Regions from separate parts of the Homo sapiens genome. Here regions 1, 3, 4 and 5 are each linked to region 2. The links are contacts of gene promoters, found by promoter capture Hi-C in blood cells and fetal thymus (Javierre and others, 2016). All regions are on one chromosome and are shown on one strand. Each heading gives the region's core, a stretch centred on a gene start or on the middle of the fragment in contact. The rest is flanking DNA. Distances are from core to core; before and after follow the strand shown.

Region 1 (5,501 bases), core at 1,503-4,002, 490 kb after region 2:
CTGGGAGTGAATGTGAGTAGCTGGTGAATCTGGAGTACACGGGGCTTTGAAAAGTCACAGGGGTACCCTGGGCAGTTGGATGGGGGTCTGATGAGGGGATGAGGCTGGAAAAGTGGGTGGAGAAAAAACTGCTGCCAATGCCTCCTCGCGTTGATTCTTGAGCAGATGCTATGCTGCGTATTCATAGCCTCCTTGGCTATTGCCTTCGGAATCCGGAAAGGGAGCTGGAATTAGAGACGAACGGAGGGCCGCGTGGTTGCAGTGCCCTCTGGTGGCCATCAGGGGTGGCCATCAGGACAATTGGTGTCTACATATTTTCCTTAAGTATTTTTTCATTGTCTATTCTTCCCCGCCCCCACCCCAACCCCAACATACAGACTCCCTGAGGACAGAGATTTTTATCTGTTTACTCGTTGTATGTTCATTGTCTAGAATAGTGCCTGGCACACAGTAGATGCTCAGTTAAATATTGAATGAGTGAATGACACAATTCAAACTGCTCCACCACTTTATATATTTATTTATTTATTTATTTTTGTTTGAGACAGGGCCTCTGTCACCCAGGCTGGAGTGCAGTGGTGCAGTCACAGCTCACTGCAGCCTCAACTGCCCAGGCTTAAGCGATCCTCTCACCCCAGTCTCCTGAGTAGCTGGGACTACAGGTGTGCACCACCACAGCTGGATAATTTTTTAAAAATAGAAATTGAGTCTCACTATGTTGCCCAGGCTGGTCTTGAACTCCTGGGCTCAAGTGATCCTCCTGCCTCAGCCTCCCAAAGTGCTGAGATTACAGGTGTGAGCCACCATGACTGGCCTCCACCACTTTATTGATGAGTGACCCTAAGCAGCTCTCTTAACTTTATAAAGCCTCAGTCTCCTCTTCGGTAAGTGGAGAGGCTAACGCCCGCCCCCACGAGCATTAACTGAGGGAAGGGGACCTGCACACCCTGGATGAAGGTGCTCCCTGCTAGCTCCCGTCTCATGCAGTAGCCAGCATTGCTGGCACATCCCGTACTCACAACAGCATATCATTTTCATTAAACAAACTGCTATGATGGGCACATTTGCCATTGTCTGTGGGGCATCCTGGGGAAATGATCCCAGCTTGGTCCTAGGCTGGCCAGGCAAAGAGGAAGTGTAGCCAGATGGACAAGGGACTGGGAGGTGATGCATAAGAGTCCTTGCCTGCCACGCATGCCCCATTTCCCCACCCCCTCAGTCACACCCAACTCTTCCAACTGCCTTGAGCCATCGAACTCCCTCTGCCTTCTGAAGCTCTGAAGACACTGTATCACTTCTCTCCAAACCCCATGGCCATGACCCACACTCAAGTCCTCTTCCACAGCTCCTCCTGGCCTCCCTGCAGCTGCTCTAGCCCCCTCAAATGCATCCTTCTGCAACGGACTGGATTGAAGCTGCGAATAAGCTTATCTGATTTTCCAGCTTGATTTCCAGCTCACTCATGAGACAGAGTCCAAATCCTCCGATCTACCATTTTGTGGTCTGGACCCAGCCCATCTCCTAGCCACCTCCTGATCACAGCTTCAAATCTTACAGCAAACAATCCAAGCCACCTCTGCCCATGCATCTCCCCTGCCTGGAAATCCATTTCCCTGCAAGGAGGGCGTGTGTTGCCCTAGAGTGCCCAGGATCCATTTCCTGTTCCCCCAGTAATGGAGTGCCCGCCCCAGCTCTCAGAGCTGGAGGATACTGGAGGGCTAACCCATTTCTGGGTTTAGGGGGAGCTTAAGACTCAGGCAGGCAGGTTCCTTTCGCTTTTTTAATGGAACGCTGTGGCTGCAACGAGCATTTTCCAGTTGGCCACAGCGCACCCCCACTTTGTCTTATTCCAGTTCCACCCATTTATTTTATCCGAATAGGTCCTGGAGGCACCGAGTTTGCAGCTCCTGGTACCCTCTCCTCACTTCTGCTCTGTCAGGCCCCAATGCCTGCCCAGATCCCAGATCCCAGTTCCCAGATCACCCCGGGGCTCAACTTTCCTCCCTTGATGCCCAGTGGAACCCCTGGTCCCATGGGGCTTCAGTTTCCCCAGTTCAGGCATAAGAAGCTGGGGTTCATCTGAGCGTGTCCATGTTCCCCCTGGAGGAAGGACGGGAGCAGGCAGGGTGGAGCTGGGATTAGAGGGGACAGGGCAGCTGCAGGTGGCACCTCTGGGCTGTGTCCTCTTGTAGCAGGACGAGCCACAGACAAAACTCCTCAGGCACCGGATTAAAGAAGGAAGAGGTTTATTTGGCCAGGAGCATTGGCAGACTTGCATCTTAATAGCTGAGATCCCTGAAAAAGAAATTCTTGGCCTTTTTAAAGGCTTACAACTCTAAGGGGTCCACGTGAAAGGGTCATGATATCTCAAGCAAGCGGGGAACGTGACTGGGGGCTACACGCATCAGCTAACAGAGCAGAAAGTTTTGCAATGCTTTTTCATACAATGTCTGGAATTTACAGATAACACAAGTAGTTTAGGTCAGGGGTTGATATTATTATTATTGTTACTTTTTTTTAACTACCAGGGCCGGGTGGTGTCGCCAAGGTCTTCTGGCTATTTATCTTACTTCTGTTTTGTTTTGTTTTCTAACTTTTTGCTTTCTCTCTTTCCTCCTGTCTTGTAAACTAGGCAAGGTGGGGGGAGGAGGGCAGCAGGAGTAGTAGTGGTCTCCTTCTTACTGTGGGACTGGCCCCTTTGGTTTAGGGTATCACCAAAGGCAGTGTCTAGGCCAGCCCAGTGTCTCTGCCCAGCAAACCTCCATCTGCTGTGCACTCACAGCCAGGCCATGCTGGTGTTTGGTACAGGTTGGGTGCATGAAGGATGAAGGTTTTGGCCTGTCTGGGGCTTTTGCCTGCCTTTCTTCCTTTCTTTCCATCCTTCCTTTCCCTCCCTCCCTCCCTCCCTCTCTCTTTCTCTCTTTCTTTCCTTTGTTTCTTCTTTGGAGACAGAGTCTCGCTCTATCACCCAGGCTGGAGTGCAGTGGCACCATCAGCTCACTGCAACCTCCACTTCCTGGGTTCAAGCGATTCTCCTGCCTCAGCCTCCTAAGTAGCTGGGATTACAGGCGCGTGCCACCACACCCAGCTAATTCTTCTATTTTTGGTAGAGATGGGGTTTCACCATGTTGGCCAGGCTGGTCTCAAACTCCTGAACTCAAGTGATCTTCCCGCCTCAGCCTCCCAAAGTGCTGGGATTACAGGTGTGAGCCATCGTGCCCGGCTGTCCCAGGTAACTTCTGACATTTGCTGACCCCTCACTATGTGCTCATTATCACCGCAGAACCCCATGTGGTTGATCCTTTATTAGACCCATTTTACAGATTAGGAAACTGAGATGAGCAGAGGTGAAGTCAGCCCTGACAGGTCACAGGAGCAGCAGGTGGCAGAGCCAGAGTTGGGCTCAAGCTAGTGCCAAATGTGCCCCATTGGCCACTGACCCTAAAGATGTGTGACCCAGAGGGTCCTGAGGAGCCACGTTAACCCATGGCCGGTGTCATCCTCTTCCGGTTTAGGACTAGTGGATTTTGGGCACTGGAGCCACCTCTTTGGCAAACAGCTTGAGGGAGAAATCAAGGGCTGGGGCCGCCTGGGTCAGCATCCCCATGGAGATGACGTCTATGTGCGGCCCGCAGAACTGGGGGAGGTTGTCCAGGGTGATGCCCCCACTGGCTTCCACAGCCACACTCGGGAACTGGGCCTTCAGCACGGTGGCCGTGGGGTGCAGCTCCTGCGGGACACAAGCCAAGGGGAGGTAAGAGCCCACCACAGATCCCTCCCCGGAGGCAGAGCCCACCTTACCTCTGGCTTGAAGTTGTCCAGCAGGACAAGGTCGGCACCAGCCTCAGCTGCCTGCACGGCCTCCTGCAGGCTGCTGCATTCCACTTCCACCTTCAGAGTGAAGTCAGCCGCCTGTCTGGCCGCCCGCACCGCCTGCTGGGCAGCCGGGAGGACAAGGGTGAGGACTGGGCCCAGCACCTGGCACTGGGGCGCAGGGAGCCGGGAGGGCGAGGGTGACGATAGGGCCCAGCACTGCAGCTGGGGCGCGGGGAGCCGGGACTGACATTTGAAAAGCTTCGGGTGGACCATGAACTTGGGGTTAATAAGGAAACCAGACTTTGGGGTTGTTTTTGCTTTGTTTTGTTTTTGAGACAGGGTCTCAACCTGTCGCCCAGGCTGGAGTGCAGTGGTGCAATGATAGCTCACTGCAGCCTCTACCTCCTGGGATCAAGTGATTCTCCCACCTCAGTCTCCCGAGTAGCTGGGACTACAGGTGCGTGCCACCATGCCCAGCTAATTTTTGTATTTTTAATAGAGACGACGTTTCACCATGGTGGCCAGGATGGTCTCTAACTCATGACCTCGTGATCCACCCATCTCAGCCTCCCAAAGTGCTGGGATTACAGGCGTGAGCCACCGCACCTGGCCACTGTTTTGTTTTTGAGTCAGGGTCCCGCTCTGTCGCCCAGGCTGGAGTTCAGTGCAGTCATAGTTCACTGCAGCCTCCACCTCCTGGGATCAAGTGATCCTCCCACCTCAGCCTCCCAAGTGGCTGGGACTACAGGGGCTTGCCCACAAGCATGGCTAATTTTTTAATTTTTTGTAGAGACAGAATCTTGCTATATGGCCCAGGCTGGTCTCAGACTCCTGGACTTAAGTAATCCCCCCAACTGGGCCTCCCAAAGTGCTGGGATTACAGGTATGAGCCACTGAGCCAGGATGTTTTATTGTAGGTTAAAATGACCACTTTTGTGGGTCAAAAAGTGGATGAATATCAGCAATATTTGGCATTTGGACCTGAGCTCAATTTGACTCAGAATATTAAAATTAGAAGGGGTGTTTAAGGGCATTTCACAGATGGGAAATAAGGTGCAGAGGGCTAGAGAGATGGGCTCAAGGCTGTGGTGCCAGTGACACTGGCTTCCCCTGTGTTGTCCTTTGCTCTTGAACATCACGCCACGCAGCAGCAGAACAAAGATAAAGAACCAATTCCAAAACCAGGCATGGTGGCTTATGCCTATAATCCCAGCACTTTGGGTGGCCAAGGTGGGAGGATCACTTGAGTCCAGAAGTTTGAGACCAGCCTGGGCAACATAGTGAGACCCCATCTCAAAAAAAAAAAAAAAAAAAAAAAAGGCAGCTGGGTGCAGTGGCTCACTCCTGTAATCCCAGCACTTTGGGAGGCCGAGGTGGGTGGATCACCTGAGGTCAGGAGTTTGAGACCAGTCTGGCCAACATGGTGAATCCCTGTCTCTACTAAAAAATACAAAAATTAGCCGGGCATGGTGGCTGGCGCCTGTAATCCCAGCTACTCGGGAGGCGGAGGCAGGAGAATTGCTTGAACCCAGGAGGCAGAGGTTCCAGTGAGCCGAGATTGCATCACTTCACTCCAGCCTGGGTGAAAGAGTGAGACTCCATCTCAAAAAAAAAAAAAAAAAAAAAAAGCAAAAATTAGCCAGTGGGGTGGAGCATGCCTGTATATCCAGCTACTGGAGAGACTG
Region 2 (5,493 bases), core at 320-2,819:
TCAACTCTGATCTTCCAGTGGTCCCCACCTCCCCCAGGACACCCCTCAGTCTGGCTTTTAAGGTCCCAGCATCATCTCCAGGGGCTCCCTATTCTTCCCTCTGTGGCTGATGCCTGCTTGCCTTCCCCAGCCTCTCCTTCCCTCTAACCTGCAAGCCCCCTTCTCCCTGGCCCCAGGCCACTCTGAGCCACCCTCTCAATCTGTACCCTCAGCCTCTGCAACAGAGCCTGGCGTGGTGTTGCCCCACTGCATGTTTGTTGACTGACTGGCTGATGGATGCAGAGCCCGTCCTTCCTAATGGTTCAGACTCAGGCGTCATCAGCCCAGATGGCTCCGAGGGTGGGTTCTCTCTTAGTTACCGTGTCCAGAGCCCACCTCCCTCACACCCACACAGCGCTTCCTAAAGGCAGGGACAGGAGCTGGCCTCCCTCGCCTGCTGGCATGGGGCTGGACACAGGAGGAAGTGGCGTGGGGGCTGCCTGAGGGGAGTGAGGCGGCAGGATAGCTTCCCCAGCAGGTCTCTGGCTCAGGTCCAGGTATCTCCTCCTCCCCATACCTCTGCCTCTCGCCTCCGCTCAGAAAAGCAGGTGCCCTTAAGAGCCATCTCCACCCCCATGTAAACTGCACACAGGAAGGGAGAGGCCACTCCGACTGCTCTGAGGTCCAGGTAGGATGGTTTCCCCCAGTGTCTGGGTGGGGAGCAAGGAACTCCAGGGGCGACCTTGTGCCACCGCATCACCTTCCTGCTCAGGGAAGGGGCCTGTGCTGCCGCTTGGAGGGTGCCATGCCCAGAGCCTCTGCCCCTAGCCTCAGCCTCGCCTACTCACTGGGGGCTCCAGCACCCCCGGCCACCCCAGGACTCCCGAAGAGGCTGCTAGGTCGGCCTGCCCAAAGAGCGGTGAGGAGCGTATGTGAAGAGCCCCAGTCTTGAGGAGCAGCCTGTATCTGGAGAGAGGGGAGCCCCGGACCAGAGGTGGGGGACAGGAAGCCATCGCCCCACCCTGCCTCCTCCCCCACCACAGGTACCAGGCCCGGAAACCACGGAAAGGGGAACTTGGTCTTTTCTTGTTTTGCTCTCAACCCCTTCCTGTCTCCAAGCCCAGGGCAGCTGCCCCGCTCACCCCACCCTGCCCTCGTCCCCACCCTCCCCGAGACTCAATTCCGTGGGGAGTCGGGCCCTCGACACTGTGCTGACCCCCGGCCACCCACCTCCATCTTGGCCGCGGTGGTCCCTAGCCCTCGCCTCCGCAGAGCGCTCTGGGGCCCCGGCGGCCCCCACTCCAAGCAGCGTCCCCCCACGGGCTGCTGCGCCCGCTACCTGGCCCCGGCGCTGGCTGGGTCGCGGTGACAGCCGCGCGCCCCCGCAGCCCGCGGCTCCCACGCGCGCGCCGCCCCACAGGTGGCCCTCGCCCCGGCCCACCCGCGCCTCCCAGGCCCAGCCTCACCTGCTGCCGAGAGAGGACAGTGATCCCCCAAAAGCCGGAGGTGGAGGAGGAGGAGGAAGAGGAGGAAGGAGCTGGAGGAGCCGGGGACTCGCCCGCTGAAGATGCTCTTGTCAAGACAATGAATGAGAAGCAGCCGTGCGCCCGCCTCCGGGGTGGCCGCGCCCCTTGGGGCGGAGCTCTTCCAGGCCCGCCCTGCGCTCCCGGGCTCCCGCTGCGGCCGCCTCTCTCCCCGGCCCCTGCCCGTGCACCACGTTGGTCCCCAACCATAGCGCAGGCTGCCATCCCGGCTCCGGGAAGCGAATCTAAACTTCTTTTTAAAATGTCAAAACGCAAGAGCACCCCATTGCTTCTTTCCTCCCTGCGTCCGCCCCCAGCCTCCTCGCCAGCCTTTCCCTGGCAGGCACGAAAGCGCCCCAGGCCCGCCCGCCAGGCCTCGGTGCCCGCCCCGGCCCGGCTGCGCCGCCCCTTCCTCCCGGCCCCGCAGACGCGAGCGCAGGGGGCGCGGGGGGCGCGGGGGGCGCGAGGGGCGCGGGGGGCGCGGGCGAGGAGGAGCCCCGAGCGCGCTCCTGGACCCCCGGGACCTGGCTCTTGCCTGGCTCTGAGATCTAAGCATGGGTGGCCCCGGGAGTCGCTTCTCCTCCCTGGATCTCCTGGCTTCATCGGGAACACCCCTGCCCTCCTGCTGAAATAATCCGGCATCACGGGCACCTACTTCGTGCCAGGGGCTACAGGGTCGAGCAAGGCAGGCAAGCCAGGCAGGTTTCCGCCCCTGAAGAGCCCAGCCTGGGGGAAGGAGGAGGAGCCCACGGCCGCTCCAAGCCCTGGCTTTGGCGAAGGCTCGAGGGCAAGGAGGAATAGTTCCCACCCTTGGATTCAGAGAGGCTTCTGGAGGCAGCAACAGCGGGCAGGAAAGGCCTGCTCTAGAGTCAGACTATGTCATGAGTGCGACCGCAGCCTGTCACCTGCTGAGTGAGGTGTGGCCGCTACTTAGCCTTTCTCAGCCTCGGTTTCTCCCTCTGTAACAGTCATACCTGCCACGTAAGAGGTATGGGGATGATTACCTAAAATAACCCAAGGAAGTCAGTAAGGACCTCATCTAGAAAGTGGCGGGTGCTTAATAAACGTTAGCTCTCAGCCATGCGTAGTGACTCACGCCTGTAATCCCAGCACTTTGGGAGGCCAAGGCTGGCGGATCACCTGAGGTCAGGAGTTCGAGACCAGCCTGGCCAACATGGTAAAACCGCATCTCTACTAAAAATACAAAAATTAGCGTGGTGTAGTGATGCACCCCTGTAATCCCAGCTACTGAGGAGGCTAAGGCATGAGAATAGCTTGAACCCTGGAGGCAGAGGCTGCAGTGAGCCAAGATTGAGCCACTGTTATCACCCAGTCTTCTCTGGGTGAAAGAGCAAGACCGTCTCATTTTAAAAAAAGTTAGCTCTCATCATTCTTGTTTAAAAAGTATCTGGGCTGGGCCTGAAAGGATTAGGAAGAGCCAACAGGCAAGGCTAGAGGGGTGACCTGTAGGCTGAGGGACAGCCCTGTCGTGTGGAGAAGTTCAAGGAACAGCAAGGGACGGGTTCAAGTCCCACCTCTGCCACTGACTGGCTGTGCGATCTTGGCCAAGAGGGCTAATCTCTCTGAACCTCATTTTGTCATTGGTAAATGGGGAATTAATAAGATTTGAACTGCCCACCTCACAAAGTTATGAGGCTCTGGCCGGGCGCAGTGCCTCACGCCTGTAATCCCAGCACTTTGGGAGGCCAAGGCGGGCAGATCACGAGGTCAGGAGATGGAGACCATCCTGGCTAACATGGTGAAACCCCCTCTCTACTAAAAATACAAAAAATTAGCCAGGCATGGTGGCAGGCGCCTGTAGTCCCAGCTACTTGGGAGGCTGAGGCAGGAGAATGGTGTGAACCCAGGAGGCGGAGGTTGCAGTGAGCCGAGATCGTGGCACTACACTCCAGCCTGGGTGACAGAGCGAGACTCCATCTCAAAAAAAAAAAAAAAAAAAAATTACCCGGGCATGGTGGTGCATGCTTGTAATCCCAACTACTCTGGAGGCTGAGGCAGGAGAATTGCTTGAACCTGGGAGGCGGAGGTTGCAGTGAGCTGAGATGGCACTATTGCACTCCAGCCTGGGCAACAAGAGTGAAACTCCGTCTCAAAAAAAAAAAAATTAGCTGGGCATGGTGGTGTGCGCCTGTAGTCCCAGCTACTCGGGAGGCTGAGGCAGAAGAATCGCCTGAACCCAGGAGGCAGAGGTTGCAGTGAGCCAAGACTGTGCCATTGCACTCCAGCCTGGGCAACAGAGTAAGACTCCATCTCAACAACAACAAAAAAGTTACTAGGCTCAAATGAGACAATAAATCTGTAAATCTTTTATAGATTATTCAATTGTAAAAACCTTAGGGCTGTACTGTACTCAAAGGCCTGCGACTGGACGGGACTAGACCGAGATAAGGTGGGTACTCTGATGTGCCGTCTCCCACAGAAGTGACAGGAATAATAACTGGCTTTTATTGAGTGCCTACTATGTGCTGGGCACTGTTCTAGACACTATACTATGTTCATGTAATCCTCATAGCACCCCTGGGTAGCAAATACTATCTCCATTTTACAGATGCAGAAACTGAAGCACACACTGCCTTCAGCTCTGGAGGGCCTCATGTCCACCCACAGGACGAGGGCATTGGTGAAGGACCTGAAAACTAGGCTCCTGAAGGTGGCGAGCCTGACGGCCCTGGAGAGGGCAAGGTGCAGGCAGACAGTGCTGCTTTCAGAGGCCAAGTGGGCTGCAGCAGGGGAAGGGGTGGGCAGCCTTGGGGCTGCCACAAAGGTCAGGGGCAAGGCTGGTGGGTGGAGGTTCTGGGAAGCAGATGTCCATGCAGCATAAGAATTAGTTACAGCAGTGAGTGGGGAAGGCCCTGGCAAGGCTCTCCATGTTTGAGAGGGGGACAACCTTTTCAAAGGGTGTCCTTATAAGGGATGTCAGAGGGCATTTGCCCAGGAGCGGCGAGAATCACTTGAGCCTAGGAGTTTGAGACCAGTGTGGGCAGCATAGCAAGACCCCATCTCTTAAAAAAAAAAAAAATGAAATTAGCCAGCTGTGGTGGCATGTGCCTGTGTTCTCAGCTGCTTAGGAGGCTGAAGTGGGAGGTTCGCTTGAGCCCAGGAGTTCCAGGCTAACAGTGAGCTATGATTGCACCACTGCACTCCAGCCTGGGTGACAGAGGGAGACCCAGTTTCAATTAAAAGAAAAAAAAGGGGGACCTTTGCCTCTCTTGTTCCTGCTGGTTTAGCTCTTACCATTGCCTCTCTCTTTTTTTTTTTTTTTTTTTTTTTGAGACAGGGTCTCCCTCTGGCTGGGGTGCAATGGCACGATCACAGCTCACTGCAGCCTCAACCTCCCACGCTCAAGCGATCCTCCCATCCATCCTCAGAGCCTCCCGAGTACCTGGGACCAGAGGCACATGCCCAACACACCTAGCTAATTTTTTAAATTGTTGGTAGAGACGGGATCTCACTATGTGGCCTAGGTGGGTCTCGACCTCCTGGGCTCAAGCAATCCTCCTGCCTCAGCCTCCCAAAGTGGTGCAATTACAGGCATGAGCCACCGTGCCTGGTCCCGTCGCCTCTTTATTGGATTTTCTTTTGGGGAACCAACCTCTCCTCACAGGCACTCCATGAGGTTCAGGAGGGGACCTGGCGTATTCACATGGCCTGTGCTTCCCAACCAAAGCAACCTGTTTTCATTGGCTCAGGGATGGGCACTTGATTCATCTTGTGCCCAAGACTCACCTTGGAGCTGCTGTGAAAAAGATGCCCTCTCTCCACTGGGAGTTAGGAAGCTGATAGGATGTAAGCCCAGCACTGCTGGTGATATCTTGTTGGTATGCAGGAAAAGCTGGTCAGAGCAAGGTGCAGTGGCTCACGCCTGTAATCCCAGCACTTTGGGAGGCCGAGGCAGGCAGATCACCTGAGGCCAGGAGTTTGAGACCAGCCTGGCCAACATGGCAAAACCTGTCTCCACTAAAAATATAAA
Region 3 (5,819 bases), core at 397-2,896, 410 kb after region 2:
GCCGAGGCGGGCGGATCATGAGGTCAGGAGATCAAGGCCATCCTGGCTAATGGTGAAACCCCATCTCTACTAAAAACACACACAAAAAAATTAGCTGGGCACGGTAGCGGGTGCCTGTAATCCCAGCTACTCGGGAGGCTGAGGCAGAAGAATCGCTTGAACCCGGGAGGCAGAGGCTGCAGTGAGCAGAGATCACACCATTGCAGTCCAGCCTGGGCCACAGAGCGAGACTCCGTCTCAAAAAAAAAAAAAAAATTAGCTGGGCATAGTGGTGCACACCTGCAGTCTCAGTGCTTGGAGGACTGAGGTCAGAGGATTGCTTGAGCCTAGGATTTTGAGGCTGCAGAGAGTTATGATCATGCCATTGCACTCCAGCCTGGGTGACAGAGCGAGACTCCGTCTCAAAATAAATAAATAAATAAACAAAAAAAAAATATTTTAAAAGGAGAAATGAATGGACCCGAAAGATAGGAATTAACTTGTAAATGATTCTCTTTGGAATTTGAATAAGCCCAAGAGACTGACTATCTTGTGAAAAAGTCTGTCTATGTTTGGTCACATGCTTCAGTCTTATTTTCTGCCATAATGAGGTTATCTGCCATAGATAACAAGCTGAAAGTGTGATGAATTTGGAAATAATGAAGAGAGGAGGGTGGCTGGAGGGAAATGAGGGAAGCCGACCTGTGAGGCCTGGGCAGCAGCCAGTGGGCAGAGTGTGCAGAGCCTGAGAGGTGTGGTCAGGAGTTTGGCTTTTTTTTTTTTTTGGAGATGGAGTCTCACTCTGTCACCAGGCTGGAGTGCAGTGATGCAATCTCAGCTCACTGCAACCTCTGACTCCCTGGTTCAAGCGATTCTCCTGCCACAGCCTCCCAAGTAGGTGAGATTACAGGCATGCGCCACCACGCACAGCTAATTTTTGTATTTTTAGTAGAGACGGGGTTTCGCCATGTTGGCAGGATGGTCTCGAACTCCTGACCTCGTGATCCGCCTGCCTCGGCCTCCCAAAGTGCTGGGATTACAGGTGTGTGAGCCACCGCGCCCGGCCTGGAGGAGTTTGGCTTCTTTTCTCACAGTGAGGGGAGACATGGAAGGGTTTTGAACAGAGGGGTACATGCTCATATTTGCATTTTAGAAGGATTGCTCTCTCCTGATTTTGATAAAGTGGAGGAGGGACTTGGGCAGGGTAAGAGTGGAGACAGGCATGGCAGATGTGGTGTGACCTTCTCCCCTCCCATCTAGAATTCCCCTGAAAGCTCCTCCCTCTCTCAGGTGAAGCAGCTTTGCCCTCTTTTCAAAGTTTTGATGCAATTTCAGACCTGTGGTGGGGATCTGCCTCTCCACCCCCATCCAGAAGGTTTCCGACACCTGTGGCTCATGCCTGTAATCCTAGCAATTTGGGAGGCCAAGGCAGGACGATAGCTTGAGGCCAGGAGTTTGAGACCAGCCTGGTCATCATAGCAAGACCCCCCCCACCCATCCCCACAAAAACTAAAAAACTAATTTAAAAAAATTATTTGAGGGCTGAGCACTGTGGCTCATACCTATAATCCCAGCACTTTGGGAGGGCAAGGCAGGCAGATCTTTGAGGTCAGAAGTTCGAGACCAGCGTGACCAACATGGTGAAACCTTGTCTCTACTAAAAATACAAAAATTATCCGGGCATGGTGGTGGATGCCTGTAATCTGCTGCAGCTGCTTGGGAGGATGAGGCAGAAGAATGGCTTGAACCCGGGAGGCAGAGGCTGCAGTGAGCAGAGATCGCACCATTGCACTCCAGCCTGGGCCACAGAGCGAGACTCCATCTCAAAAAAAAAAAAAAATTAGCTGGGCATAGTGGTACACACCTGCAGTCTCAGTACTTGGAGGACTGAGGTCGGAGGATTGCTTGAGCCCAGGAGTTTGAGGCTGTAGAGAGTTATGATCATGCCATTGCACTCCAGCCTGGGCAACAGAGTAAGACCGTGTCTCAAATAAATAAATAAATAAAATAAAATAATAAAAATGTTTTGGCCAGTTGCGGTGGCTCACGCTTGTAATCCCAGCACTTTGGGAAGCTGAGGCTGGCAGATCACCTGAGGTCAAGAGTTTGAGACCAGCCTGGCAAACATGGTGAAACCCTGTCTCTACTAAAAATACAAAAATTAGCCAGACATGGTGGCAGGCACCTATAATCCCAGCTACTTGGGAGGCTGAGGCAGGAGAATCGCTTGAACCCAGGAGGTGGAGTTTGCAGTGAGCTAAGATCGCGCCATCGTACTCCAGCCTGGGTGACAAGAGTGAAACTCCGTCTCAAAAAAAAAAAAAAAAAGTTTCAAAATATATTTCCAAACAGTGGGAGATCTGTTTCCTGTTAAGAAAAAAACATTATCTGCTTCCTATTTATACACTGGGCCTTGGTGCACGTTTTCATTTGGAAGAAGGGTCTGACGGCATGAGCGCTGCTTTTCTGTTCACTCTTAGTTGTTCCAATGAATAAAGTAATGGGCAGAAGTGACTTCACCAGGTTGCCAAGGGGAGTCCTGCTCTCCGCCCACAGTGACCTGCAATTGCTAATCTTCAACTCTGCCCATGCACACTCCAGCTGCCTAAAATGCTCTCCTCCTTCTGCCCACCTGGCAACCTCCAGGTTATTCAGAGGGGACCACCACCAGCCTGCACCACCACCCACCCTTCTCACAGGAAGGCCTCAGCTCTCTTCTCCTCCCAGCTCCTCCTCTTCAAATAGAATTCATCATTCCTTTCTTTGGCTTCTGTGTGTTTCCTACATTACTCTATTATGGTTCTAATTACCCTGCACTATAATTTATATGTTTACATGTAAGCCTTCTCCACTAAACTGAGAGCTCATTCTCAGGCAGGGGCCATGACTCAGTCATCTCCAAATTCCCAGCATCTGGCATCACACCTGGTACAGAGTAAGCATCCGTGGATGGTTATCCAATGAATACAGCACCTTGGGCCCAGGCTACAACGAGACTTCTATGAACCGTTCCTCCTTTGTCTTTCCTCACCTCTCTGTCTCTCTTCTTGCAGGGTTTGTATTGGGTTTTCTTTGCTTTCTTATTCACTTTTATTTATTTTTTTCTTTTTTGAGACAGGGTCTCACTCTGTACCTCAGGCTGGAGTGCAGTGCCACTATTACAGCTCACTGTAGCCTCAACCTCCTGGGCTCTATTGATCCTTCCACCTCAGCCTCCCAAGAATCTGGGACCACCCCCCAGCAAATTTTTGCATTTTTACTTTTTGTAGAGATGAAGTCTCACTGTGTTGCTCAGGCTGGTCTTGAACTCCTGGGCTCAAGTGATCCTCCCACGTCAGCCTCCCAAGTGCTGGGAATACGGATGTGAGCCACCTTGGTTGGGAAACCTCAGGGCAGCTTGGGTGGCCACAGTAGTATGAGAGAGGCTGCAGGGGCTCAGATTCAGGGTAGGTAAGGGTACATTGTTAATCATTTTTTAAGCCAGAAACCTATAGCCACGTACCAAGCATTTGTGGACAGAATGTTATAAAGAGATGTTAAGTAAAGTTATGGGAGGCTGTTTTTCTGGCCTGAGCTCCTGAACTAGACCCCAAAAGACCAAACCAAAATGGAGTCACCCATGCTAAATGCTACATAATCAAACTCAAACTTCAAAGAAAGCAGAGAGATCCCAAAACAGACCAGGTTTTTCCTCCTGAAAACAAATTCCAGCATAATAAGAAGCTCCCCTCTGCTCCAACCCATCCCAAAAAAGTAACCTGGAATAACGAGGTTTTTCCTTATTGCTCTATTTCCTTATTCCCACCTTACAAAACCCACTGCTATGTTTCCTAGTGGGATTTTAGACCAAAAAAGTCCATTCACGGTGGTGACAGAGTGACATCAATGCCTAAAGCTTTTTATCAATCTCTCAAAATTGAAAGTTGGCCAAAAAGAGATAATTGGTTTTCTTTGTTTTCGTTTGTGTTTTTGAGACTGAGCTTAGCTCTATCGCCCAGGATGGAGTGCAGCGGCACAATCTTGGCTCACTGCAACCTCCACCTCCTGGGTTCAATCCATTCTCGTGCCTCAGCCTCCCAAGTAGCTGGGATTATAGGCGCCTGCCACAATACCCAGCTAAATTTTGTATTTTTAGTACAGATGGGGTTTCACTATGTTGGCCAGGCTGGTCTCGAACTCCTAACCTCAGGTGATCCGCCTGCCTTGGCCCTCCAAAGTGCTGAGATTACAGGCATGAGCCACCGCGCATGGCCAAGAGAATTGTTAAATTAAGTTTAGCCTAAAGCTGCCTCCTTACATATTTTAATTTAGGCCTAAAGGTTTCTCCTCACCTAGTGGCCTAACTGGACATGTAAATAGACTATAACCTTCTCTTATACCAACCACAGAGTTTTGGCCCATCACAAGTGGCCAACTGTTCAAACCATGTTCAAATAAGGCAAGTGCCACACCTTAACCAATCTGGCTATTTCTGTACCTCATCTCCATTTTCTGTATGTCACTTTCCTTTTTCCGTCTATAATTATTATCCAACCATATGGCAGCCCCAGAGTTTCTCTGAACCTATGCTGGTTCAGGGAGCTGCCTGATTTGTGAATTGTTCTTTGCTCAATTAAACTCTCTTAAATTTAATTTGTCTTAAGTTTTAATTTTAACAGATACATGGGTTTAACACCTGGCTCCAGCCCTTACCTACCATGTAACCCACTGAGCTTCAGTTTTTTTTTTGTTTTTTGTTTTTTTTTTGAGATGGAGTCTCACTCTGTTGCCCAGGCTGGAGGGCAGTGGCGTGATCTCGGCTTACTGCAACCCCCGCCTCCCTGGTTCAAGCTATTCTTCTGCCTCAGCCTCCCGAGTAGCTGGGACTACAGGCAAGTGCCACCACATCTGGCTAATTTTTGTATTTTTAGTAGAGACGAGGTTTCACCATATTGGCCAGGCTGGTCTCCAACTCCTAATCTGGTGAACCACCTGCCTCGGCCTCCCAAAGTGCTGGGATTAAGGGCATGAGCCACTGTGCCCGGCCTGGAGCTTCAGTTTTTTCATCTGTAAATTGGAGATAATAAGACCCACCAATTTTTTTCAACCCCCTGGTACAGGCCTGGCACGTGGTAGGTAGTAAGTGAAATTTTTATTCTCCCTTCAGATTTTCACGAAATACTCTGGTCTTTCTTTTCGGCCTCTTTCAGATAAAGATCTGGACAGCCTTTATCTTACTCATCTACCATTAGCTATATTTCATGGGTTAACTTGAGTAGATACTGGAGATCTTGTCAAATGCATCATAAGACTGGAAGAAGAATTTTATGTCCATTGATTTGGACAACTGAAGCTCCTGGTTTTAACTTTCTGTTTTTTGTTTGTTCGTTTGTTTTTATTGTGGTGTAATTTACATGGTAACTTTGTTTAACTTTGGAGTTTCTGCTTCACAATTTCCACATCTCCTACTGAATTGCTTTGCAACTGCAATGCTTTGGTTTTGACCTTTGTTTAATTTATTTGCCCTTTGTTCCCTTTATTAGTTTTCCTCCTCAGAAGAGTGATCACTGTCTAGAACATACGACAATGTGATATTCTAAGGCATCAACTTAAAATCTGGAGATCTGGCCAGGCATGGTGGCTCATGCCTGTAATCCCAGCACTTCAGGAGGCCAAGGCAGGCAGATCACTTGAGGTCAGGAATTTGAGACCAGCCTGCCAACATGGTGAAACCCTGTCTCTACCAAAAATACAAAAATTAGCTGCGCATGGTGGCGCATGCCTGTAGTCCCAGCTACTCGGGAGGCTGAGGCAGGAGAATGGCTTGCACCTGGGAGGCGGAGGTTGCAGTGAGCCAAGAT
Region 4 (5,728 bases), core at 505-3,004, 390 kb after region 2:
CCAACACCTGGCGCAGAGTAGGCCCTCAAGAAGTATTTGCTGAAAAAAATTAAGATTTAGTGAATAAACTACTAATCACTGGCTTGTTCATTTCCATCATGAAAATGGCTCACGGCCATTCCTGCCCCAGGGCTCACAGTCCAGGGTAGGAGGGAAGAGGGGAGGGCCACATGTAAACAATTATTTACTGCACAAGAGTCTAGCCCTTTCATGATAAAAGCAACCTTGAGCTTGGACCAGGCTAGCAATTATTAATTTTCCCTTCTTTCACAATTCCTAAATTTCATTCACTCTTCTCCCTTTTATTGATGAGGAAATTGAGCTAAGAGAGCATCTTACATCATAAATAAGAAAACACTTGCTGTTCTTGTCTTCTTAGTCAAGGCCTGGCAAACTCCTATCCAACCTTTGAAACCCATCTCAAGTATCATTCACTCCCTTAATGAAGTCCTCCCAGAATACTCAAGGGCTTACTTCAGATTCCACACCCTCAGTTTATACACATCTCTCATTGTGTTTCGTATTACATCTACGTATGTGACACTCTATTGAAACAGACTGTAAATTCCTCGAGGAAGGGACATTATTCATTCAGGCATTTTCATATCTACCATGCACCGGACACAGTGCATCTTCGAAGGGTAAGGGGAGACTGTGCTCAGCCAGCAGGGATAACATGTACTTGGGCATAATGGTTAAGAGCAGAGGTTCTACACTCAGACTCCTTGAGAGCGAATTCAAGCCCCAATATTTACTAGTTGTGTTAACTCTGAACAAACTAACCTCAGTTTCCTGTGTAAAACAAAGACAGTAATAGTAACAACCTGATAGCATTGTGTGGACAATAAATGGTTCACCACCATAAAATGCCTACAACTGTGCCTGGCACATAGCAAGAGCTCTACATGTGTTAGGCATTCTCCTAAATGTCTGTTTCCCCACGAGGCTAACGAGGGCTCCAGTGAATTACTATGGCGCTCACCATCATCACTAACGAGGATTAAGTCTCCGGGTTAGAGAGGCACATGTAAACAAATACTCACATACAAGATTTTGGGTGTCCTAACAGCCTTTCCAACCCTAAAATAGCATTCACTTCCATGCTAGAGTGAAAGGAAATTTTAGTCTTTTATTTCGTTTTCCTGTAATCGCAGAGCATCTTACGCTGCCAACTCAAACCCAGCAGCAGCCGGGTCTGTTCCTCAGCCCGTCCTCTTGCATCTCTCAGGGATGTCTCTGCACCCAAACACCATGTCCCACACAGAACCCTTCCCAATACACGCCTCCGGCTCCCTTCTTCTCGTCCTCGTGGCTAGAGCGTCCGCCACTCTTCTCTTGCTTATTCAGGTGATCTCCAGGGATGAGGCCATGACCCCCGTTTCACAGACGAAGAAACCGAAGCTCACAAAGAAAAAGTGCGCGGGGTTCAAGCCAAGAGCCTGGACCGGAGACCCGAGTCTACTGACCCAAGGGGAGAGCAGGAAACAGGGAGAAGGCAGGAGCCAGGCGGGGCGACCGGCTCGCGACCCCACACTCTCACCGTCCCCCTCTCCCCGCCCCTGCGCCATGGCCGCCTCTCCGCGACAACCCGCAGAGCCTGGACCACACTCCGACACATAACTCCCACTAAACTCCAGACGTCGGTACCCGCCTTGCCCAGGCCGGGCTCAAGTACCTGAGATCGCCGCCGCTGAAGCTGCCGCCATCTCGCGTCGCCTCTGCTGCGTCGAGCCGCCCGCGGCCATTCCACTCCCTCCTTGGGCCCGCCTCTCCCATTCGAATTCCCCGGTGCCCCGCCCCCTCTCCCAGGTTCCACCAATCAAGACTACGCGCCGCCGGAAGCTGCTGCGTGTGGGTCGCCACTATCCCGCCTTCCAGCGCTCGCCTCCGGGTCCCCAAGAAAAGGTTCCCCTGGTCAGGACGCATGCGCGCGCGTGGGCCGCGCAGCCGTTGATGTCTGGAAGCGCGCTGCGATACAAACCCCTACGCAGGGATGTTGGCGACGGTGGCCGCTGGGGGAGCTGCTCAGCGCCGCCCGGCACTGGGCTCCCTTTCCCTTTACTTTCTGCAGTTTCTTGCCTCCGTGGGTGGTTGGCGCGTCTGCGGAGCCAGGGTCGTTGTGTGGATCGTGGGACTGCAGCCCCAGCCAAAGGGCTATCACGTCTGGTCGGTTCTGTAGATCTGGGCCCCAGGGGCTGGACTCTGGGCAGTCACGTTGCAGTCGCTGCCTGCTGGGCCCAAGGCCACTGTAGGTCCCCTCGCGTCCGTGTCAGCCCAGGAGAGCAGCTTGGATGTTCCTGTCTTTATAACTTGGCACTCAGCACGTCGGCGAAGCGTGGAAAACGCTTAGTCTGTGATTCAGTCCCACTCACCCACGGTTCCGGTTCCCAGTCCTTAAGAGTACAGCAGTCCGTTGAGTAGCTCTCTGTCCTTTCTGAAGGGTTGGCTAGGGACGGTCATTCCACTTTTGAGCACCAGGTAGGTAGGGCCCAGGTTTAGACATTATGTTCCACCCTGTTGAACAACAAAACAAAACACGGGCCGGGCGCGGTGGCTCAGTCCTGTAATCCCAGCACTTTGGGAGGCTGAGGCGGGAGGCTCACCTGAGGTGAGGAGCTCGAGACCAGCCTGGCCAACATGGCGAAACCCCGTCTCTACTAAAAACACAAAAATTAGCCGGGGATGGTGGCACGCCTGTAGTCCTAGCTACTCGGGAGGCTGAGGCAGGAGAATCGCTTGAACCCGGGAGGTGTAGGTTGCAATGAGCCGAGATGGTGCCACCGCACTCCAGCCACGGCGCCAGAGTGAGACTCCGTCTCAAAACAAAAAACACAAATCTTAGATCAGTGTTTCTGAAACGTTTTGCCTTGGGATCCCACTACAGTTTTTAAAAATGAGGCCTCCAAAGATGTTTTGTGTATATGAGGGTTTTTGTTTTTTTGTTTTTGAGACGGGGTTTCACTTCCATCTCCCAGGCTAGAGTGCAGTGGCTCAATCTCGGTTCACTCCAACCTCTGCCTCTTGGGTTCAAGTGATTCTCCTGCCTCAGCCTCCCGAGTAGCTGGGATTACAGGTGTGCACCACCACGCTCAGCTAATTTTTGTATTTTTATGGAGACAGGGTTTCACCATGTTGGCCAGGCTGGTCTCAAACTCCTGACCTCAAGTGATCCACCCGCCTTGGCCTCCCAAAGTGCTGGGATTACAGGTGTGAACCACCAGGCCTGGCCGTATATACTGTGTGTGAAGTGAAACTAAATTAAAGTTGACATTAATGAATTTAAAAATTACAGTAAAAAACCCATAGACATAAAAAGGACATCTAAGTAGTGGTTGCCAGGGGATGGTGAGGGGCTGAGGAGCTGGCACTACAGCAATAGATATAACGAGTTTCTTTTGGGGGTGATGGAAATATTAAATATTTTGGAATGAAGTAGTGATGATGGCTGCGTAACGTAATAAACATACTAAAAACCAGAGAGGTGTGCACTTTTTTTTTTTGAGACATAGTCTCTCTCTGTTGCTCAGGCTGGAGTGCAGTGGCGCAATCTCAGCTCACCGTAACCTCCGCCTCCTGGGTTCAAGCAATTCTCCTGCCTCAGCCTCCCGAGTAGCTGGGATTACAGGCATGCACCACCGTGCATGGCTGATTTTGTGTTTTTAGTAGAGACGGGGTTTCTCCATGTTGGTCAGGCTGGTCTTGAACTCATGACCTCAGGTGATCCATCCGCCTCGGCCTCCCAAAGTGCTGGGATTACAGACGTGAGCTACCAAGCCCTGCCTAGACCTCCATCTCTTTTTTTTTTTGAGACGGAGTCTCGCTCTGTGGCCCAGGCCGGAGTGCAGTGGCGCCATCTCGGCTCACTGCAAGCTCCACCTCCCGGGTTCACGCCACTCTTCTGCCTCAGCCTCCCGAGTAGCTGGGACTACAGGCACCTGCCACCACGCCCGGCTAATTTTTTGTATTTTTAGTAGAGACGGGGTTTCACCGTGTTAGCCAGGATGGTCTTGATATCCTGACCTCGTGATCCACCCGCCTCGGCCTCCCAAAGTGCTGGGATTACAGGCGTGAGCCACTGTGCCTGGCCTACCTCCATCTCTTAAAAAATAAAATTAGCCAGGCATGGTGGCACACACCTATATTCCCAGCTACTTGGGAGGCTGAGGTGGGAGGATTGCTTAAGCCCAGGAGTTTGAGGCTGCAGTGAGCCGTGATGGTGCCACTGCACTCTGGCTTCAGTGACAGAGGGAGACCTTGTCTCAAAGACACACAAAAAAACTAGATTCTCATATCTGCTTCTGCATTCATGCTGTTGTGATGTCACATATAATATAGTATTTTGAATACTCCACTATATACTTGAGAAACAATGCAAGAGAAGTCAATTGGTATCTTAGTTTTATTATGAAAATAGTTTTGAACTTGTAGACCCACTGAAAGTGTCTCAGGGACTCCCAGAAGTCTCTGGACCATACTTTGAGAACATCTGACATTGGCAATTGGCAGTTTGGTCTTCCTTGCCTGTCAGAAAAGGCTGTTCAGTTTTCACATTTGTTGTCAACTCCAGATATTTGGTAAGAAACCTGCCAGAAATAGTGAAAAGAGCATAGATCAAGGAGATAGGGCTTCTATGTTTGAATAAACCATTTAGGTACAGGGCCTTGGTGCCAGGCTGCCCAGACCAGAGATTTAGCCTCTTTGTGCCTCCATTTCCTCAGATATTAAAAGGGAATAATGGTTGAAATACCTCCTAGGGTTGTTTTAAGGATCTGCATCTGGCTGGTAGAAATTAGGGTGGTTTGGCCAGGCGTGGTGGCTCATGCCTGTAATCTCAACACTTTGGGAGGCTGAGGCGGGCAGATCACCTGAAGTCAGGAGTTTGACACTAGCCTGGCCAACATGGGGAAACCCTGTCTCTACTAAAGACACAAAAATTACCCCGGCGTGGTGGCACACACCTGTAATCCCAGCTATTCAGGAGGCTGAGGCAGGAGAATCACTTGAACACAGGAGTTGGAGGTTGCAGTGAGCTGAGATTGCACCACTGCACTCCAGCCTGAGGGACAGAGCAAGACTCCATCTGAAAGAAAAAAAATTAGCCAGATGTGGTGGCATGTGCCTATAGTCCCAGCTACTTGGGAGACTGAGGCAGGAGGATCGCTTGAACCCAGGAAGTGGAGGTTGCAGTGAGCTGAGGTCATGCCTGTGCACTCCTGCTGGGATGACAGAGAAAGAAACAATTGATTTTTAAAAAATAACTTCCAGGCCGGGTGCAGTGGCTCACGCCTGTAATCTCAGCACTTTGGGAGGCTGAGGCAGGCAGATCATGAGGTCAGGAGATCGAGGCCATCCTGACTAACACGGTGAAACCCCGTCTCTACTAAAAATACAAAAAACTAGCTGGGCGTGGTGGCGGGTGCCTGTAGTTCCAGCTACTCGGAAGGCTGAGGCAGGAGAATGGCGTTAACTCGGGAGGCAGAGCTTGCAGTGAGCCGAGATGGCACCACTGCACTCCAGCCTGGGTGACAGTTGGAGACTCCTCAAAAAAAGGCTGCTCACGATGGCTCACGCCTGTAATCCCAGCACTTTAGGAGGCCGAGATGGGCGGATCACAAGGTCAGGAGATTGAGACCATCCTGGCTAACACGGTGAAACCCCGTCTCTACTAAAAATACAAAAAATTAGCCAGGTGTGGGGCGGGCGCCTGTAGTCCCAGCTACTCGGGAGG
Region 5 (5,731 bases), core at 11-2,510, 370 kb after region 2:
TCAGGTGGGGCTGCAGACTCCAGCCTGGACCCCTGGTCTGCAGTGGCCTCTTTGCTCACTTCTGGTTTGGACACTGTTTCTTGGCATGGGTCTTCGGGGCTGCAGTTGGCCTTTGATTCCCCTCCTGGGCTTAAGCTGAGGTCTGTGGCCTGGGCTGTTTCTGAGGCCCCAGCCGGGGTCTCTGTGGTTTCTGGAGCCAGCCCAGCCTTGGGCCCTGAGTCCACAGGGGCCGCAGTGGTGTTTGGACCTGGCTGCGGGGCCTCTGGCTGGTCTGGTACCCCTGCTAGGACCTGGGGAGGGCCAGTTTCAGCTTCAGAATGGCCAGGCCCTTCGCCTGGAACCTTGGGACTCTCCTCAACCCCCTTCATCTCAGAGATCTCAGAGCTGCTGGCTGCCATCTTGAGATGGGAGAGGGGAGAGAGCCCCTATGGGGAGGATGGAATAGCAGAGACAGCGGCAAACCCTGGAAGAGGAGGAGATAGGCTTGGGGTGAGGAGGGAAGAGGGCGCTCAGCACTGCAGGCCCAATTGGGCCACATTCCTGTCTCAGGGCCAGCCTTGCACTGCCTCTAGGGAGAGGAAGAAAAGTTGGGGTTTCCTTTGCCTTAGGGTGGGACATCCCTGCGGGAGGAGTGCTCTACTCAAAGTCTTCTGCTTGGAGAGCCCTGGGGAAGATTAACCCTTTTGTAAACAGGACCTTCTCCAGGGTCTCTCCCTGGGTCCATCCAACAAGATCCAGACTCTCAGATCCCAGCACCCCAAAATCAACGAGCTGTGCAAATAGCACTCCGACAGGCCGACTGGGCAGAGGACCCGACATTCGCATTCCACTCCCTCTGCATCCTCCCCTCCTCCCTGGGCTCCCAGGCGGTGCGGGTTTTCTTGCTGCGCGTTTAGGGCGAGGACGCTCCCGCCCCTTTCTGGGGGACCTGGTTATCTCCTTCGATCCCCTGTCAGCCCCTCTCCCGGGGCTTCCCTCGCCTTCGGTGGGCTGGCGCCTCCTCCCGATGGTTCAGCCCGCCCAGCACCACCACCAGCCCTCCAGACACCCGCATTCCCGTGCAGTCCGCCCGGCGTCAGCCGTCGGTCGGTCCACTCCTACCCGCAGCCTCAGTCTGCCCGGGTCTCACCTCGACGCCGGCCTCCGGACAGCTCCCGCTGCCGCTGCTGGCTTTTGCAGCAGCCGCAGCCCGGGAGGGAGCAAGTCAGCTAGGGAGGGAGGGAGGCGGCGGGTCTCCCTCTTCTCCTCTCCCGTGTGCTCATCCCCTCCTCTCCGGTCCCCTCCCCTACGCTCCGCCGCCGTCGCCGCCCCCGCCCCTCGCGAGCCTCCGGCCCCTCCCGCCAGCCCAAGGGAGCCACGCGTTACCCAGGCAACCGGCCCGGGGACCACTCGCGCCCCCTCCCTGCCCCTTCTCACGCGCGCCTCCAGGAGAGACGCCTCCTTCTTAAGTCCCCGGCCCCTCCCGCCAACGGTCACCGGGATTCCTGGAAGAGACGGGGATTTGGGGGAAACGGAGAGGGTTCTGCGAGGAGACGGGACCAGTGAGACAGGCAGGACCGGGTGGAGGCGTCTCTACGAGCAGGAGGGCAAGGAAGATGGGGCAAGACGCGGGGAGGCTGCAGAGGAGGAGCAGGGTGGGGTTTGGAGAGAATGGAGCCTGCAGAAAGGAGCGGCAGAAACTGGCGCTGGAAGGCTCAAAAAAGGGGCCCTGGAAAGGACGGAGCGGGGACAGGAAAGGGAATTCCAAGGGGCAGGAGGAGCTGGGCAGAGGAGCCCGTGTAAACACAGAGTGGCCCATGCCCAGGATGAGGGACAGGTGCAGCTTTCATTCTCTACCTCGCTGCTCCCAGTCCTAGGGCTCGGACTCCCCAGCCTTTCCGCAGCCGCATCCACCCACCATGGCCTCAGGGCCGTGACGCGCGTGGGGAGGGATGCGGCTGGGGGCTGAGCAGCGGCCATGAGTGTGGACGGGGGAGGGCGGCATTCCCGTCTGGCAGCTCTGTTTGGGTTTCTGACGGGGCCTCTTCAAACCTCCAGGGGCTATTCTGGGCCTGTCCGAGTTGGGAATTCCCCAGAGACCTGGAACTTGCTCTCCACAGCCACAGCCTTGGCCCCGCCCTGTATCTGTGCTGCCGCCAGTAAGGCTGCCCCTGGGGAGGGCGGAGCCAGAACCTCACAGCCTCACAGGGCAGAGCAAGGCTGGATTGACGGACACCAGGCCGAGAAGAAACCCTTGGGGTTGGCGGCAGTTCTTAGTGAGGGCAATTCATTCAATCCAGAGCCAGAAACAGGATTTTATTTAAAATTTATTGTAATGGGGTCCGCGCAAAAGGAAGGGGTGGAGGGTGGGGTACATGCAGGGGACACAGGAACACGATGACATGGCCAGGGCCACAACTTCTTCTGTCGTGGGGAAGAGGGATGAAAAGACAAGACCAGGGCTGGAGCTGGGGTGGAAGAGGGGAGGGGGACACTGGCTGCATTCCCCCGCCCCCAGGAAGCACCTCTAGGCCCTGGACCCCTCGCTCACCCTGGCCCCTAAGACTCCATCTCTTCTCTGCCTCTGGCCCTCCTGGCTCTTCCTCCTGCTCCCCTTGACTTTTTCCCCTGACAGATTCTCAAGTAGGACGATGTTCAGGGCCTGACCCCAACCCCCCATACCACCTTATGAAGGTACAACCTTTGCCGGCCCTGCTTCTGCCCCTCCTCAAACCTCACCGCTTTCCCTCTTTGGGACAGCTCTGATCCCCCTCCTTCCTCTCCTCCCTCCCCCTGGAAAAAAAAAAAAAAGGAAAAGAAAGCACCAACTCCCCGGGGAGGGGCTGCAGACAGCAGGGGGAGAGGACTGGAAGGAGAGAAGAGGACCGTCGAGGGAAGAGGCTCACAAGTCCCTGGGAAGACAGGGCATGGGCTTACAGAGAGGAGAGGGGGTACGGGCAGTGGCTGCTCGTGTCCTCTGCCACCCCTGCCCACTGTCCAGGGGACTTCAACACAACCGAGGGGACAGGTTTGTGTGGGGTCAGGTCTGACAGAAGAGGAGCAGGAGAAACAAATCGTTAAAACCTAGCGAATTCCCCTAAGAAAACATTTCTTCCTCCTTTCCTTCTGGAGGCTCCTTGGTTGGTAGGGAAATAGGAGTTGGTGGGAAAAGAGGGGGGAGAGGAGCTTGTACCAAGGGACTCTACTCCATTCTCCCCTCTCCCCCGCAACCAACTTGGAGCTCACCAGGGTTGGGAGGGAAGTGGCTGAGAGCTCACAGGCACCCCCTCCGCCCCCGAGAGGGAGCCCACAGCTGTGGGAGGGGCTGCTACTGCTGCCGCTGCTGCCGCTGCCGCCGCTGCCGCTGCCGCCGCCATTGGACAAACCTCACCAGTACCTGCACAGGAGAAACACCACGGATCACAGCGCGATCTGAATGGCAAGAGCCTTGCCCTCACCCCACACCTTCCCAGCCTGCTTCCCCTGGGACACAGCCGTTGCTCACTTCCTATCTGGACCCCAGAGGCCTCAGCCTGCATCCTCACCCAGACAGAGCAGTTCTCAAGGATCCTCCCTGTGCCCAGAAGTCTCCCTAGCCTGAGTGGTACATGGGCATCCCTCGCCTTCCTGAGATCCCCTATTGGGCCCTTTGAGCCCCGTTGTCCCCCACACCCCCCATCCCGCCCCCCAGCCATGCCCCACGCCTTGCCTGGTGGGTGCGGGGGTCCCCCTCAGCAGGTGGGCTGTGGCTGGGGGGCGTCTCCCGGGACAGGGGGGGCGGCCCCCCCCAGATGGGTCTGCATGTGGCCGGCCAGCTGGGCAGGGGTCTTGCAGTGCACGCTGCACAGCTTGCACAGGATGCGGTCAGCCCGCGGGGCCTGGAGCCCGTGGTCCTTCACCGCGTGGATGCGCAGGTATGCTGCCGTGGTGAAGCCTATTGGGGGGTGGATTGGGATGGGGCGGGGGTCAGCCAGGCGGAGACCCCAGAGACGGGGCTGATCTCCTAGGCGGGGGATGCCCTCCTCAGATGGCCCTGTCCTCCTCCCACGGTATCCTTGGTAGCCTGGGGCCAACTGCTCTGTTGGGGCTGGTAGACACAGCCCCTCCCTGAGCCTGGGGCCTGGCTTGTGTGGTGCCCGCTTCTCAGCCTTGGTACCTACAGAACTCATTCTCCATGGCCGGGAGACCTCTCCCAGGATGACGAGACACTGACTCCTAGCCACTTGCAGGGTTGACCCTCAGCAGAGACGGCTGTGTCCCCTTCCCTCCAGTGCCCCGCGGTCTCAACCCAGTTAACCGGTGAGTCTGACTGAAGGCAGCTTTCTCTGCTACCCGTGCAGGGTGCGTGCTGGTAAAGCCCGGCCCGTGTACTCCACCTGCCCCAGGAGCTGGAGACAAGACCTTGTGGCTGCGCAGCGGAAACCTTGCCTTGTGACCCCTGGAACTGGCTTTCTTGACTACTCCTTCCCCAGAGCAGCCAAGTTCCACTCCCGCTTTCCCCACACATTACCAGGAGGTTCAACCTCTCTGGCAGATCATCTCTTCCAACCAGGACTTCTTAGAGTCTAATGATGTTCATTCAGGTGTCCCCCCGCTGCTCCCTTGACCTCTTGTAGGAATCTAGACGCCACGAGCTCTTGGCTACAGCACCCTTAACCCGTATCCGTGGCAAGGCGTCTGGCCAGGCGCCCACCCTCTGCCCCTGGCCCTCCCGGCAGCCCTCGGCATGTACCTTTGTTGCAGAGCTCACAGACATGGTGAGGACCCTGGCTGTGCACCTTCATGTGGTCCGAAATATAAGCCGAGCTCAGCATCTTGCCACACACGTGACATGGCACTTTCTCCTCGTGTCGTACTGTGTGCGCCCGCAGCCGATCCTTCGTGGCGAAAGCTGCCTCACATTTCTGAGGAGGGGGGAGGGGCGTGGGGGGTGTCACAGGAGAGTTAAAGCTTGGTGGGCTGGGGAGGGGGGAGCAAGAGATTAAAGGAATCAGAGCCTTGGGGATCTTTGATCTGTAGGAAATGGGAGTGACATGATGAGGCCTTGAAGAAGGGATGAGAAAATGGAGCAAAAAGGCAAAAAGAAGAGAGAGAAAAAGGGGGTCTGAGAGACTGACTCAGACAGCTACCATGAGGATCAAAATCATGAAAACCAAGACAGGAGGAGGCGGGCTTCCTACCTCACATTTGAAGGGCCGTTCTGTTGAGTGCACTTGTCTGACGTGACTGTTGAGGTGATCCGGCCTGGGGACACGTTGGGGTTGGGGTTAGGGCGGAGGTGGTGCGCCCCAAATCCACCAAACCGCACCACAGGCCTTTCCGAGGATCCCTGCGCCTCCTCCCGGAGCCCAGGCCGTCACAGCGACACTTAAGCAGGAAATCCCTCCCCTGGAGCCCAGCAGCCGCTGCCGCCGCCGCCGCCTCCTCCCACGCGAAGCTTCCGTCAACCCCAAGGCCCACCTCCTCGACAAAGGACCACCCCTTGCTCCCTGGTAACCGGGAGAGGCTTCCTCCCTCCGCCCTGGGAGTGGCTCCCCTTCCCCAGCCTCAGCAGCCGCCTCCCTCCCCGCCAGCCACGGCCAGGCCACCTCCGTCGCGTCCCTCCCTCCCCACGGCCTAGCGGGCGGCCGAGGCCCCGTGCACACCGGGAGAAGCTCTTGCCACAGTGGGAGCAGTTGTAGGGCTTGTGCACAGCGCCGTCATGTGAGCGCACGTGGTAGCTCATGCGGTCCTTGCGCTTGAAGCGCTGCTG

What was found. The method cuts DNA at HindIII sites, captures the fragments that hold promoters and counts their contacts. A CHiCAGO score of 5 or more calls a contact.
Region 1: a fragment that was not itself captured here is called in contact with the fragment with the promoter of CORO1A in region 2 in 1 of 17 cell types (neutrophils); the score reaches 5.9 in neutrophils.
Region 3: a fragment that was not itself captured here is called in contact with the fragment with the promoter of CORO1A in region 2 in 1 of 17 cell types (monocytes); the score reaches 6.0 in monocytes.
Region 4: the fragment with the promoter of KIF22 here is called in contact with the fragment with the promoter of CORO1A in region 2 in 1 of 17 cell types (neutrophils); the score reaches 5.0 in neutrophils.
Region 5: the fragment with the promoter of PRRT2 here is called in contact with the fragment with the promoter of CORO1A in region 2 in 1 of 17 cell types (neutrophils); the score reaches 5.3 in neutrophils.

What each region holds. Positions count from the first base shown.
Region 1 is chr16:29,695,428-29,700,928 of GRCh38, reverse strand. QPRT (quinolinate phosphoribosyltransferase) reads right to left here. Exons shown (of 4, transcript NM_014298.6): 3 at 3,802-3,933; 4 at 2,230-3,730. The coding sequence ends at 3,518. Among named protein-coding and RNA genes, the nearest start is that of QPRT, 19 kb to the right of the region's middle. RefSeq lists a cis regulatory region at 1-531, a silencer at 1,302-1,476 and an enhancer at 5,402-5,501. The HindIII fragment of the contact is 2,648 bases long and covers 1,429-4,076 here.
Region 2 is chr16:30,179,678-30,185,170 of GRCh38, reverse strand. It overlaps CORO1A (coronin 1A), which reads right to left and starts at 1,569. Exons shown (of 11, transcript NM_007074.4): 1 at 1,446-1,569. It overlaps CORO1A-AS1 (CORO1A antisense RNA 1), which reads left to right and starts at 383. Exons shown (of 2, transcript NR_186359.1): 1 at 383-667; 2 at 1,400-1,778. RefSeq lists enhancers at 1-205, 206-747, 748-1,288, 2,707-2,816 and silencers at 1,137-1,246, 1,277-1,736, 1,877-1,986. The HindIII fragment of the contact is 25,461 bases long and covers 1-5,493 here.
Region 3 is chr16:29,767,490-29,773,308 of GRCh38, reverse strand. No RefSeq gene overlaps it. Among named protein-coding and RNA genes, the nearest start is that of ZG16, 7.9 kb to the left of the region's middle. The HindIII fragment of the contact is 4,460 bases long and covers 1-3,876 here.
Region 4 is chr16:29,786,777-29,792,504 of GRCh38, reverse strand. It overlaps KIF22 (kinesin family member 22), which reads right to left and starts at 1,754. Exons shown (of 14, transcript NM_007317.3): 1 at 1,676-1,754. The coding sequence starts at 1,745. LOC105371167 (a long non-coding RNA gene) reads right to left here and starts at 4,992. Exons shown (of 2, transcript XR_950983.1): 1 at 4,959-4,992; 2 at 4,382-4,583. RefSeq lists an enhancer at 1,944-2,343. The HindIII fragment of the contact is 11,757 bases long and covers 1-5,728 here.
Region 5 is chr16:29,807,722-29,813,452 of GRCh38, reverse strand. PRRT2 (proline rich transmembrane protein 2) reads right to left here and starts at 1,260. Exons shown (of 4, transcript NM_145239.3): 1 at 1,130-1,260; 2 at 1-463. The coding sequence starts at 398. It overlaps MAZ (MYC associated zinc finger protein), which reads right to left. Exons shown (of 5, transcript NM_002383.4): 2 at 5,625-5,731; 3 at 5,160-5,223; 4 at 4,712-4,883; 5 at 2,289-3,376. The coding sequence ends at 3,222. MVP-DT (MVP divergent transcript) reads left to right here. Exons shown (of 4, transcript NR_186424.1): 3 at 3,280-3,418; 4 at 4,320-4,809. RefSeq lists silencers at 1,258-1,407, 1,808-1,887, 5,454-5,731 and an enhancer at 5,134-5,373. The HindIII fragment of the contact is 10,276 bases long and covers 1-4,931 here.